Linked DNA regions of Homo sapiens: region 2 is linked to region 1. The links are contacts of gene promoters, found by promoter capture Hi-C in blood cells and fetal thymus (Javierre and others, 2016). All regions are on one chromosome and are shown on one strand. The core of a region is centred on a gene start or on the middle of the fragment in contact, and the rest is flanking DNA. Distances in the headings are between cores, read along the strand shown. Region 1 holds the start of DDX3X (DEAD-box helicase 3 X-linked). Region 2 overlaps LOC105373188 (a long non-coding RNA gene).

Evidence for each region. The method cuts DNA at HindIII sites, captures the fragments that hold promoters and counts their contacts. A CHiCAGO score of 5 or more calls a contact.
Region 2: a contact is called between a fragment that was not itself captured here and the fragment with the promoter of DDX3X in region 1, in 1 of 17 cell types (fetal thymus). The highest score is 6.4, in fetal thymus.

Annotation. Positions count from the first base shown.
Region 1 is chrX:41,330,621-41,335,784 of GRCh38, reverse strand. It overlaps DDX3X (DEAD-box helicase 3 X-linked), which reads right to left and starts at 1,623. Exons shown (of 17, transcript NM_001356.5): 1 at 1,488-1,623. The coding sequence starts at 1,532. RefSeq lists an enhancer at 1,993-2,222 and a silencer at 2,313-2,802. The HindIII fragment of the contact is 5,677 bases long and covers 1-4,394 here.
Region 2 is chrX:42,941,412-42,946,575 of GRCh38, reverse strand. LOC105373188 (a long non-coding RNA gene) reads right to left here. Exons shown (of 5, transcript XR_949037.3): 4 at 5,113-5,164; 5 at 1,520-2,036. Among named protein-coding and RNA genes, the nearest start is that of PPP1R2C, 170 kb to the right of the region's middle. RefSeq lists a silencer at 2,009-2,068. The HindIII fragment of the contact is 1,305 bases long and covers 1,925-3,229 here.

The sequences.
Region 1 (5,164 bases), core at 374-2,873:
TCAGCAATTAGAGGATTTAATATAATTGGTTCATTAACGGGTAGAAAATGCTTCCAAAGGAACAGATCAATTCCTAAAAAATATTACATATGACTACATTAAACTATGTATTCAATTAATTTGTGCCACTAAACTTCGTCTCAGGATTATTCCGGAGTTTGTGAAATCAACGCTCCCCTAATCACAGTAGACAGTAGTTTATTTAAAAGCTCCGCATAACCCACACAAGAGCTTATCTGAAGCCTGGTGCCACTGTTGCGGTGGGATGCAGACTTCCTGCCACCAAAGTCCATAACCTTCTCCTCTCAAATCACACATCTTTCTCTCCTCTGCCCCTAAACCCTTAGAAGAGGGGATTCTGGCTAAGAGAAAAAACCCGGGGGCCTGGGACCCATTGCAAGATTCTACTCCACAGATAGCAACAAGTCAACAACAAAACTGTTTACTTCCCCCCTAAGCCGGGTGTTTTTCCAATGGCGGATTCCTGGATCACAGTCACTAACACGAAGACACTACCACAACCCGCGATGACCCCTCCACCCCAGAAAAACAACGCGGGACTCCCGGCTAACATACCACACAGGGACAATCTGGGGCAAGCAAGGAGGAGAAAGGGCCTCGCTGGCTCCCTAACCTCCCCGCCACGTCCAACCTCTATCTCCAGGGCCCAGCGCGCAGCGGCCAATTCCTGCCTCCCCTCCCCGCCCCCACCCCTCCCCCACTCCTCCCCAATCTTCTGCGTCACAAAACTTTCCACTCCGGAAACGCAGCCTCCCCGGCTGCGGCGCAGGGCCCCCGGACCCTGCGGAACCTGGGCTGAAGCGAAAAAGCCAGCGGAAGGAACCCGGGAAAAAACAAGAAACCCATTCCATCCTCCTTTCCAGGCCTTCGCCCGCCCGAGACCCGCCGTCTCCCGGAGGTGAGCCACAGCGCCGCCCAGCACCACACAAAAGAGGCCGCCGCCATTACCCCGAGCGAAGGCCGCCCCCTCCCACATTCCTGGGCCGCGTTCTACCCCTTGCTCGCAGGCACGCAAACACCGGGTGCCGCCAGGTCCTCCGGACGGGAATCCAGGCTGCGCCAGCCGTGAAGGCCGAAGCCCTCCAAGCCAAAAGGGCCTCCAGTCGCGTCCCGCCGCGCTGCGCACTCCCGCAAACCCCCCCAGGTCACTAATCAGTCGGGATTCGCGCATGCGCGTCCCCGCGAGAGCGCGCGCACTTCCTCCCCCTCCGCCCGCCTGCGCACGCACACACAAAAGCCGCCATTGTGCTCGTCCCGGGGACAATACAGCGGGCCGAGACCGGGCCCGGGCGACAGCCCCAACCAACATTCCTATCCCTCTATAGCCCCGGGGCACTCACACCCGCCAGCCCGGGGCACCCAGAAAATGAAAAGTAAGGGTGCCGGTTAGCGCTGCGCCATTAGCCAGGTTAGGTCAGGGGAGGAATTCACGCAGCAGCCAGCCCGGTGGGGTTCTTGCGGCTCACCTGCTGGTCCAGCCCGAGCGCATTTTCCACTGCCACATGACTCATCCCTGAAGAGTACCGAGAACTCGGAGTCTTCCGCTGCTAAGCGAGTGTTTGTTCCACCGCGAAGGCCCTCTCACGGGAGAACTGCGGCTCTGGAGCGCACCGCGCGGCCACGGATCTAATATACCCGCTGGAAAGCCGGCTACGTCAGCACGTACAACGTGTGCCCTCCCTCTCACACCGCAATTCCCTGTCGCGGCGACTTCTGCCCGGCTACTGCGCGCTCCCTCAGGTCTAAGCTCAAGGGATTTCCTACTTAGTCCTGTCGCCCCTAGCAGTCCTGCCTTGGAGCTTAGGGTGCGAAATGCTGTCCCAGTTCTCTCGAGCTACACTTCCCGTGCTCTCCGCTAAAACCCTAGTCTCAGCCTCGGAGTTCTCGAGATCTCGCGAGAACTTGCGTCTCCCGCTTTCCACCGGCTAAGACGCCTGAAAATGTTAACCTAGGCCTCTTCGCCCCCCTTTCCAACCTTACGCATTCGCTCCCCTTTCCAACTCTATGCACTCAGCTTTCGTTTTTCGTTTTTTTTGTTTTTGTTTTTTTTTTCCTAACACTGGCCTTCACTCTTCTTCCTCTCTCAGTTCCCGGGCTTGGAGATGTGGTGGGATTTCTCCGGTCTAATCTGCCCTCGCTCTTCCGCGGGTAGCCTCCCCTTAGTGGGAGCTAGGCAGATTCCCGAAACTGAGAGGGCGGCAGGCCACGTGACCGTAGGTGTCGCGTGCGGTGGCCATTTTGTGAAGCAGGAAACGGTGGCTTGAATATAGAGTGCTCCGGACGGGGGAGGGGAGGGGAAGAGGAGGAGAGAACAGAGGGAAGGGGAGGAGAGGGAGGGAAAAGAGGGGAGCGGAGTAAGGGGAAAGGAGGAGGGAGGAGGGTAGGATGGTGACCGGGGCGGGAGTCGGGGGGAAATGGAGGGGAGCCGGCGGCGCGCGCAGGTGGCCGGACACCTTCCTGCGCGGTTGCCTAGGCAGCGGGGGCGCCGCCTAGAAACACACAATGGCCCCTCCTGGCCAACCCCCCGACGTGTGCGCGCGCGCCTCCGCCCCCGCCCCCCGCGGTGAGGGAACAATGAGACAGACACGCGCTGATCCGGAACCGCCGCTGGCGCGCCCTCCCGGGACCCCGGCTCTCCGCAGGAATGCGGGCTACATTTGCCCCTAGTTTCCTCCCGCGGGGCGCCCAGCGGCTTAGGGCCGGTGACCACCGGCGTTGCGGGGACCCCGCGGGTGGCGAACGGCTCTTCTAGGGCCCAAGGGTGTCGGGAATGTTTGTAGCCGGTGCAACCTGGGCCTGCCGGAGGGGCTGCAGCGGGGTTACCGGCCTGGGCTCGGGGTGACTCTCAGGCCGCTGCGGTGGATGAGGAACAGGAGGAACCGGGTTTCTACCGTCGGTGGAACCTCTTCCTGTGGTTCCCTCCTAGGCAGGCCACCCCAAGTCCCGGCTTCGGTGCCGCAGGCCCTTAAATAGAAGAAGGTGTTTACTAGTGGATTCCCGGCTTTGAGCCGGCGCCCGCACATCCGTAGTTTCTTATGACCGCTTTCCCCTCTCTTCTGACCCTCAGCCCTACGAAATTAAATAAAACGCAGTGGTTTCCACCACCCCCACAAAAGGTCTTCTGCTGCCAGAATTCAAATAGTTCGTGCTCATCACATAATTTACTATACACATAACTTCTCTCCCTTCTCAATTTTTAAAATCGAGACGGAAATTCGAACGAGATAGGGAGAGAATATCACACTGTCGGGGGCAAGTTGTTTAACGGCTTTGGGTCTCAATTTGCTCATCTATAAAAGGAGTCTGCTACATTCCATAACCCTGTGAAAGACCCAACTCCTTTTCATAACGAGTATTTTCTAACGCCCCCTTTACCTATACTGAAATAACAAAACCTAAATTGTTTATGTAAACCTACAAACACAATTTCAAAAAACATGATCTGTCAACAAACGAAAGCAAAATGATTATAATAAAACAATGTATTATAATATGTAAATGCCGCCGCACAGCTACACTAACTGGTGGGAAGACACTTGCCCAGTAGAGCCACAAATGCAAACTGGAAAGGTGTGTTGATTTCACAACTCAAGTTCCATGAGCAGCATTGCTACTAGGAACCTCATTTTCCAAAATGATGAACTATTAATAATTTTTAAATAAAACAGTACAATCTTCCTTCAATTGAAACAGTACCTGCATTTGTGGAAAATTCAGGATATATGGAAACTGGGCAAAGATACTTTGTGTTCATATGTAAAACAGTGTTAGTTCTAGGCTTAGATGATAATGAACTAGTTTTTCACCGACATGTGTCCAGTGATTCAATTATTCGCTCTGTGGGACTGACCAGCATCATAGAACATCCTAGCGTGCCTGGCTCCTGCCCACTAAATGCCAGTAGCTCTCGCCAGTCATTGTGACAACCAGAAATACACAGATTTCTACAATGCCCCTTGGAGAGCCACTAGGTTTAATGATATTAGGGTCCCTTCCTGCCCTGAGATTCGTGGATTCTCATGGAGTTTTGGTGAAGGACCTCGGTTTTGTTTCAGTTTCGTTTTCCTATGAACCAGGGTAAACATGAGTCAGGTTCGAAAACTGTGAGTTCCGACAGCTCTTCAAACTGCATATAGCAACAATGGGATGCACTGACTACCCTGGTTCTGGGCTTTGTTTTACTTTTGAGTAGAGCCGAGTACAGGGTACCGCCATGGGAGTACCTAAAAGAATTGAAATATACAGCAGTTCCCTATTTTCAATTAACCCCTGCTCATAGGCATACTTGGTTCAAACCACCAGGGTATTTTGTTAATCAATACGTTATAATTGGAATATCCAATTGGAGAGGAAGCGGGAAAACATACAAAGCTTTGTCTTTAAACACATTCACTTTGAAAAAGAATGATGTGCACACTTGAGGCAGCTAAATAAATGAGCCAACTTTCACAGCACTCCGAATGACTTTTCCGTTTAGCAACATTTGCATATTTTCTCCACATGGCAGTTATTTGCAAATTTTATTTGAAGTGACCTAAAAAAGGGTTAGAAATGGCTGAAACCAGGCCGGCCGCGGTGGCTCACGCCTGCAATCCCAGCACTTTGGGAGGCCGAGGCGGGCGGATCACGAGGTCAGGAGACTGAGACCATCCTGGCTAACACCGTGACACCCCGTCTCTAAAAAAAATACAAAAATTAGCCTGGGCGACAGAGCAAGACTCCGCCCCCCCCCAAAAAAAAAAAAGAAAGAAATGGCTGAAACCAGGGAAATTTTTTTTTGCACGCTCCCTTTCTTAATGTTTCCAGGCATTTTAACTGTTCATATTGAAGCAAATGTACTTCCTGCAACACCGCCCCCTCCCTCCACTTCCACCCCCATTCCTGGAGGTAGCGCAGTGAACCAGAGCCTGGGAATTGCAATTCCTCTAACTACCAGTTCAGCTCCCTGCTTACAGGCACCAGGCAACTCCCTTGACAGTGCCCTGGCTTCCTTATCTATAAAGTTGGAATAAAAGTAGTCTCTGCCTCCAAGAGTGTTTGGGATTCAAGGGCTTGTGCATGAATTGAAAGTGCTCTGCGAGGCAGGGCGTGGTGGATAATGCCTGTAATCCCAGCACTTTGGGAGGCCTAGGCACGCGGGATC
Region 2 (5,164 bases), core at 1,328-3,827, 1.6 Mb before region 1:
ACAGCTAGAGGCAAGTGGTAGGGTGCTGAGTGTTTGGAGAGAGAGAAATGATAACTCTGTTGAAGAAAAGGAAGAGAGAAGTTAAATACGAAGTTTTTAAACATAATTACATTTATTTGACCCCTTTCTCTTACATCCCACATAGCATCTATAAGCAAATCCCATAATCTCTATTTTAAAATATACCCAGAATTCCAGAATCTGACTATCCCACCTTATTTCATCACTACCACCCTAGTATAGTGAATTATTGCAATAGCCTCCTCACTGGTCTCCCTGTTTCCACCATTGTCCCCTTAATGTCAACTTGCCAGAAAGCAAACAGAAAGATCCTTTAAAAACAAAACTCACATCTTGCCACTCTGCTCAAAATCCTCCAGTGGCTTCTCTTGTCTCTCAGAAGAAAATCTTAACCATGGTCTCTGAGTCTGGCCCCTGGATCTCTCTTGACTTCACCTCCCAACTCTCTTTCCCTGGCTCCTTCTACTCCAGGTACTCCTTGCTGGACCTCTAACATGCTAACAGCTCCCATCTTCTGGGCCTTTGCATTTATGATTCCCTCTCCTAGAATGCTAGGATTTCCCCTCTAGAAATCCTCACTCACTTACTTCGTCATTTGATTCAAATCTCTACTTACAGATAATCTTTAGTGGACTTTGAATACTTGATATAAAGTATCTTGAAGTAAATACTTGATATAAAGTATAAAGACCTGAATACTTGATATAAAAAGGCATGAGCATTCCTCTGTATAACTCTCCATCCTTTTGCCCAGTCATATTTTTCCTCCTAACACTTGTCACAACTATATGTGTGTATATATATTTGTTTATTGATTCACTGAAGGCTTGTTTCTTGAGAATAGATTGTCTATTTTATTCTTTGTCTATAGAGAGCACCTAGAAGAGTGCCAGACACATGGTAACAGCTCAACAAGTGCTTGTTAAGTGACTTATATAAATTGCATGAAGCCTCAGAAAGGTTCTGGGAAATCTTAGAGAAAAATTTGAGAGAGCCTTACTATAAATGAAGTAAATGCTCAGAATCTTCTCAAAAGAGAAGCTGAAAGCTTTTATTCTGGCTCAAGAGTTGATGCTGCTTTGCTGAATTGCTGAGATAAATGTCTCTGTGGTGCATTTAAAATGTTGACTATCCTAGATTACTTGAAAAATACTTCCATCCAGTTACCTATAATCTTTCCTGGGACAATTATCAAATGTGCTTGTTAACATTAAATTTATCTTTCTGTTAAATGTTTTGCATTAGCTGTGATCATTTTTGAATAGACAAAGGGTCATACATTGTGCCAGACAAATTCTTTTTCTATCTCATCAGTGAAGAAAAAATTTCTATCCGTACATGACATACTTTGGATTTGTGGAGTTTTGAAGTTTCTACATATTTAATATGATTTTAATCCATTTAAGCTCATAATTTATTTTGTAGTCAGTCTTTGGAACCACACATTCTCCCAGCTTGGATAATATTTTCATTTGAGTATGGACATAATTTGGATCCTACTTTGAGCAAACTATCTTGTAATGGCTTTCTCATATGTCACCTTGTCTAGGCTGAATTGCATTTCCCAGAATTTTTTCTCTTGTTTGTTTTGAGTTGAGGTAAGACATAGGGAAGATTCTTGAGACATTTAGAGGCTGAAAGAGAAGCAGTGGCCATTTTGTGGCTCACACATATTGTTGCTGATCTGTAGATTCACCCTACTGGTGTGAAGCAGCATCTGATTCTGTGGCTGCTCTACCTGCCGCTGATATTCTTTCAGCTTCTCAGACTCCTAGACCAGGGGTGTGTGTTTCACTTTGTGACAAAGGGCCCCACTTCTGCTGGATACCCTCATTACCAAGGTTAGAGGCAACAAGAATGAACACAGGTTTTAGTCCTTCTCCACGGAGTTCCAGCTTAAGCTTGTTGGTTCCAGCCTGCTTGTGTTTTTCCTTTTCTGACTGCCATCCCTGTGATCTTGAAGCCTCAGCATCATGTGTGAGAAAACAGCCATACAGAGACTGCTTAGCCAGCTCCTACAATTGCATAAGGCCAATTCCGTATAACCAATTTCTCTCTCAGATAGAGGAAGAGATACATATAGCTATAAATAAAAATATAGATAATATAGAGATACCAGTAGTTCTCAGCTGGAGGCAATTTTCACCCTCAGGGAACATTTGGCAGTGTCTGCATACGTTTTTGGTTGTTACAACTTGGTGGAGGGTAGAGAGTTGTGCTACTGGCATATAGTGAGTAGAGGCCATAGATAAACCCACAATTCACAGGACTGTCCCCCACCCTCACACCCCAACAAAGAATTATCCAGCCCAAAAGTCAATAATGCCACTCTGCAGAATATCTGATATAAATATAGAGATCTAGATAGATACTAGTTTTTGCTTCTCTGATTAAATGCTAACTGATACAGATTTTAATACCAAGAGTGGTTCCAGGGGGATAGAATCTTAAGTATGAATTCTCTGACTTGGTTTTGAGTCTTCTCTAATATGATTAAATTTAAAAGCACTAATGAGTCTACTTCTAGCAGTAAGAAGGGCACTGGTAGTCAATGGCATGATGTGGCAATAGAGATACACAAAATATCCCCACTGGTTACTGTTAGGGTCCACCCAACTGGACTGTTTCCCCCTCCCATAGATCTAAGCCCCAAAGGCCAAAAGCAAAACACCCTACCCCAAACCCTCCTGTAACTGTTTGACCAGAGGCCAGCTGCTCCAGGATGTGGTTAAGACATCTACCTTGCACAACAGAACTGGCAAGAAAAACATCTCCAGGAAGTGGTCAGACACCTGGCACAAAGGACCCCCCCCCCGCCCCGTCTCTTTTCTTTTTCCTTCACCTTGACCCAGTTCTACACCCTATAAAACCTTGCTATAGCCTGTAAGTGGGGCTGCCTCCTCTGCTTTTGTCAAGAGGTGGCCTGGCAGGACTGACAATAAATCAGCTTGCCTGAACTTGGGTCTATTGGCCTCATTCCTTTCTCGGCCATCCTTCCAATTATCCCTTACAGTTACTCCTAATCAAACACTTACAGAAGACAAGGTTCTGGGTGACCATGTATTTGATGCCTTAGCACATTTTAGTCAAACCAAGGAGTACAATGAGGTTGGCTGTTTGCTCCTAACTGCGTGGGAGAAAGTAGGGAAAGGATAGGCTCGGGAATTTGAATTATCAGCTCAAAGTCCACATAAAGAAACTGAAAGCTTCTGTTTGCCCTGAAAGAAATTCTTATCTTCCTTCCATAGCCACAGGGCCCTGAAAACCAAAATTCAGAGTCTCCGCCCTGCCAGTGGCTGAATGATGCAAAGTGATTTCTCAGCCTTGTAGCCTCTGTATGAATATAAAGCTGGAATGGGATCCTATGGGCAGATTCTCACAAAGCTGGGGACTCTAACCCCTGAGTTCTGCTGAGCCTTTTTTGCCAGTAGAAGCAGCCTTTCTACTCCTGTCTTGAGAAGATTGGCCCTCCTTTGCCTGCCTTTCCTGAGGTAGTTGACTGGTAAGGCACTGCTGATCCTCTTTAAGACCTACCCCCACCACCTCTCTTTGCTTCTAAACCTATAACTTACCTGAAGTCCCAGCGGGCTCAGAGGGGTAAAGTACAAAGTGTAACCCATGAGGAGCTGCTATGCATACCAAAAGCATTGTACAGTTTTATCACTTTATATAGTCAGAAACCTGGGGGATATGCATAGGAATCAATTTTAAAGATATGGAGTCAAAGTGAAAGGAAAATGAAGTTGGATTGGGCAGAATTAGTTGATATGGGCCTGTATTCATCAGCTTGGCGTGCCATAACAAAATACCATGGGCAGGGTGGCTTAAATAACAAAAAAATTATTTTCTTACAATTTTGGAGGATTGAAGTTCAAGATCAAGGTGCCAACAGGCTTAGTTTCTGTGGAGGGCACTTTCCAGCTTGCAGATGGCTACCTTCTTACTGTACCTTCACATGGTCTTTCCTCTGGGCATTCACGTGGAGAGAGAGAGAGACAGCGCTGATGTCTCTTCCTTTTCTTATAAGGACATCAGCCCTATGGAATTAAGGCCTCACCCTTATGACCTCATTTTACTTAATTATCCCCATCTCCAAATATAGTCACATTGGGGGTTAGGGTTTCAACATACACATTTTGGGGAGGAGGCAACAATGCAGTCCATAACAGGGCCAACTAAGCAAATATTCTAGATTCAGTGTTTCAGGTTGAGGGGCTTGACAGTTTACTTGGTTGGTTGGCTGAAACATGGACCCAAAAGTGACCTACAATAAATGAAATCAAAATATGCCAGAACTTTTGGGGTATACTGTAGAGGAAGATATCTAAAGGCTTAGAAACATTTGAATGTTGGAGTGTCTTTATCATATAAGACCTACTCATTCACCTTGAGAGGGCTCTCAGAACACACCCTTTACCCTGGCTATGAGAAATAAATCTGTAAGGGGAGCTCCAGCATCCTTGATGAGCTTTGTGCTGACTATTCATTATAGACCAGAAATTATCATGGGAACTGCTACCATAAACTAGGATCCCTAAATGTAATAACAATGATAGACTCTTGAGACGACAAAGGCCAAGTGGCAGTGGCAGCACTTAATTGCCTTTGTAAATTGAATTGTGTTCCCTCAAAAAGATATGTTGAAGTCCTAGCCCCCAGTATTTGTGAATGTGACCTTATTTGAAAATAGGATCTGTGTAGATATAATTAAATTAAGATGAGGTTGTAATGGATTAAAGTGGTCTTTAATCTAATGACTGGTGTCCTCATAAGAGGGAAATTTAGACATAGAGATGCACAGGAAGAATGCTGTGTCATGACGAAGGCAGAGGTTGGAGCAAAGCAGTTGCAAGCCAAGGAATGCCAAGGATTGCCAGCACTCATCAGAAGCTAGAAGAGAGGTATGGAATAGATTCCCTTTCAGAGCCTCAGAAAGAACCAACCTTGCTAACACCTTGATTTCAGCCTTCTAGCCTCCATAATGTGGGAGAATAAATTTCTATAGTTTTAAGCCACCCAGTTTGTGGTACTTTATTATGGCAAACCTAAGAAACTAATACAAATTGCCTAAGACAAGATTAGTATAGTTACCATAATTGCCAGCAGAGTCAAAGCAGTGATTAGAAGAGTCTGGCTCCCAGAA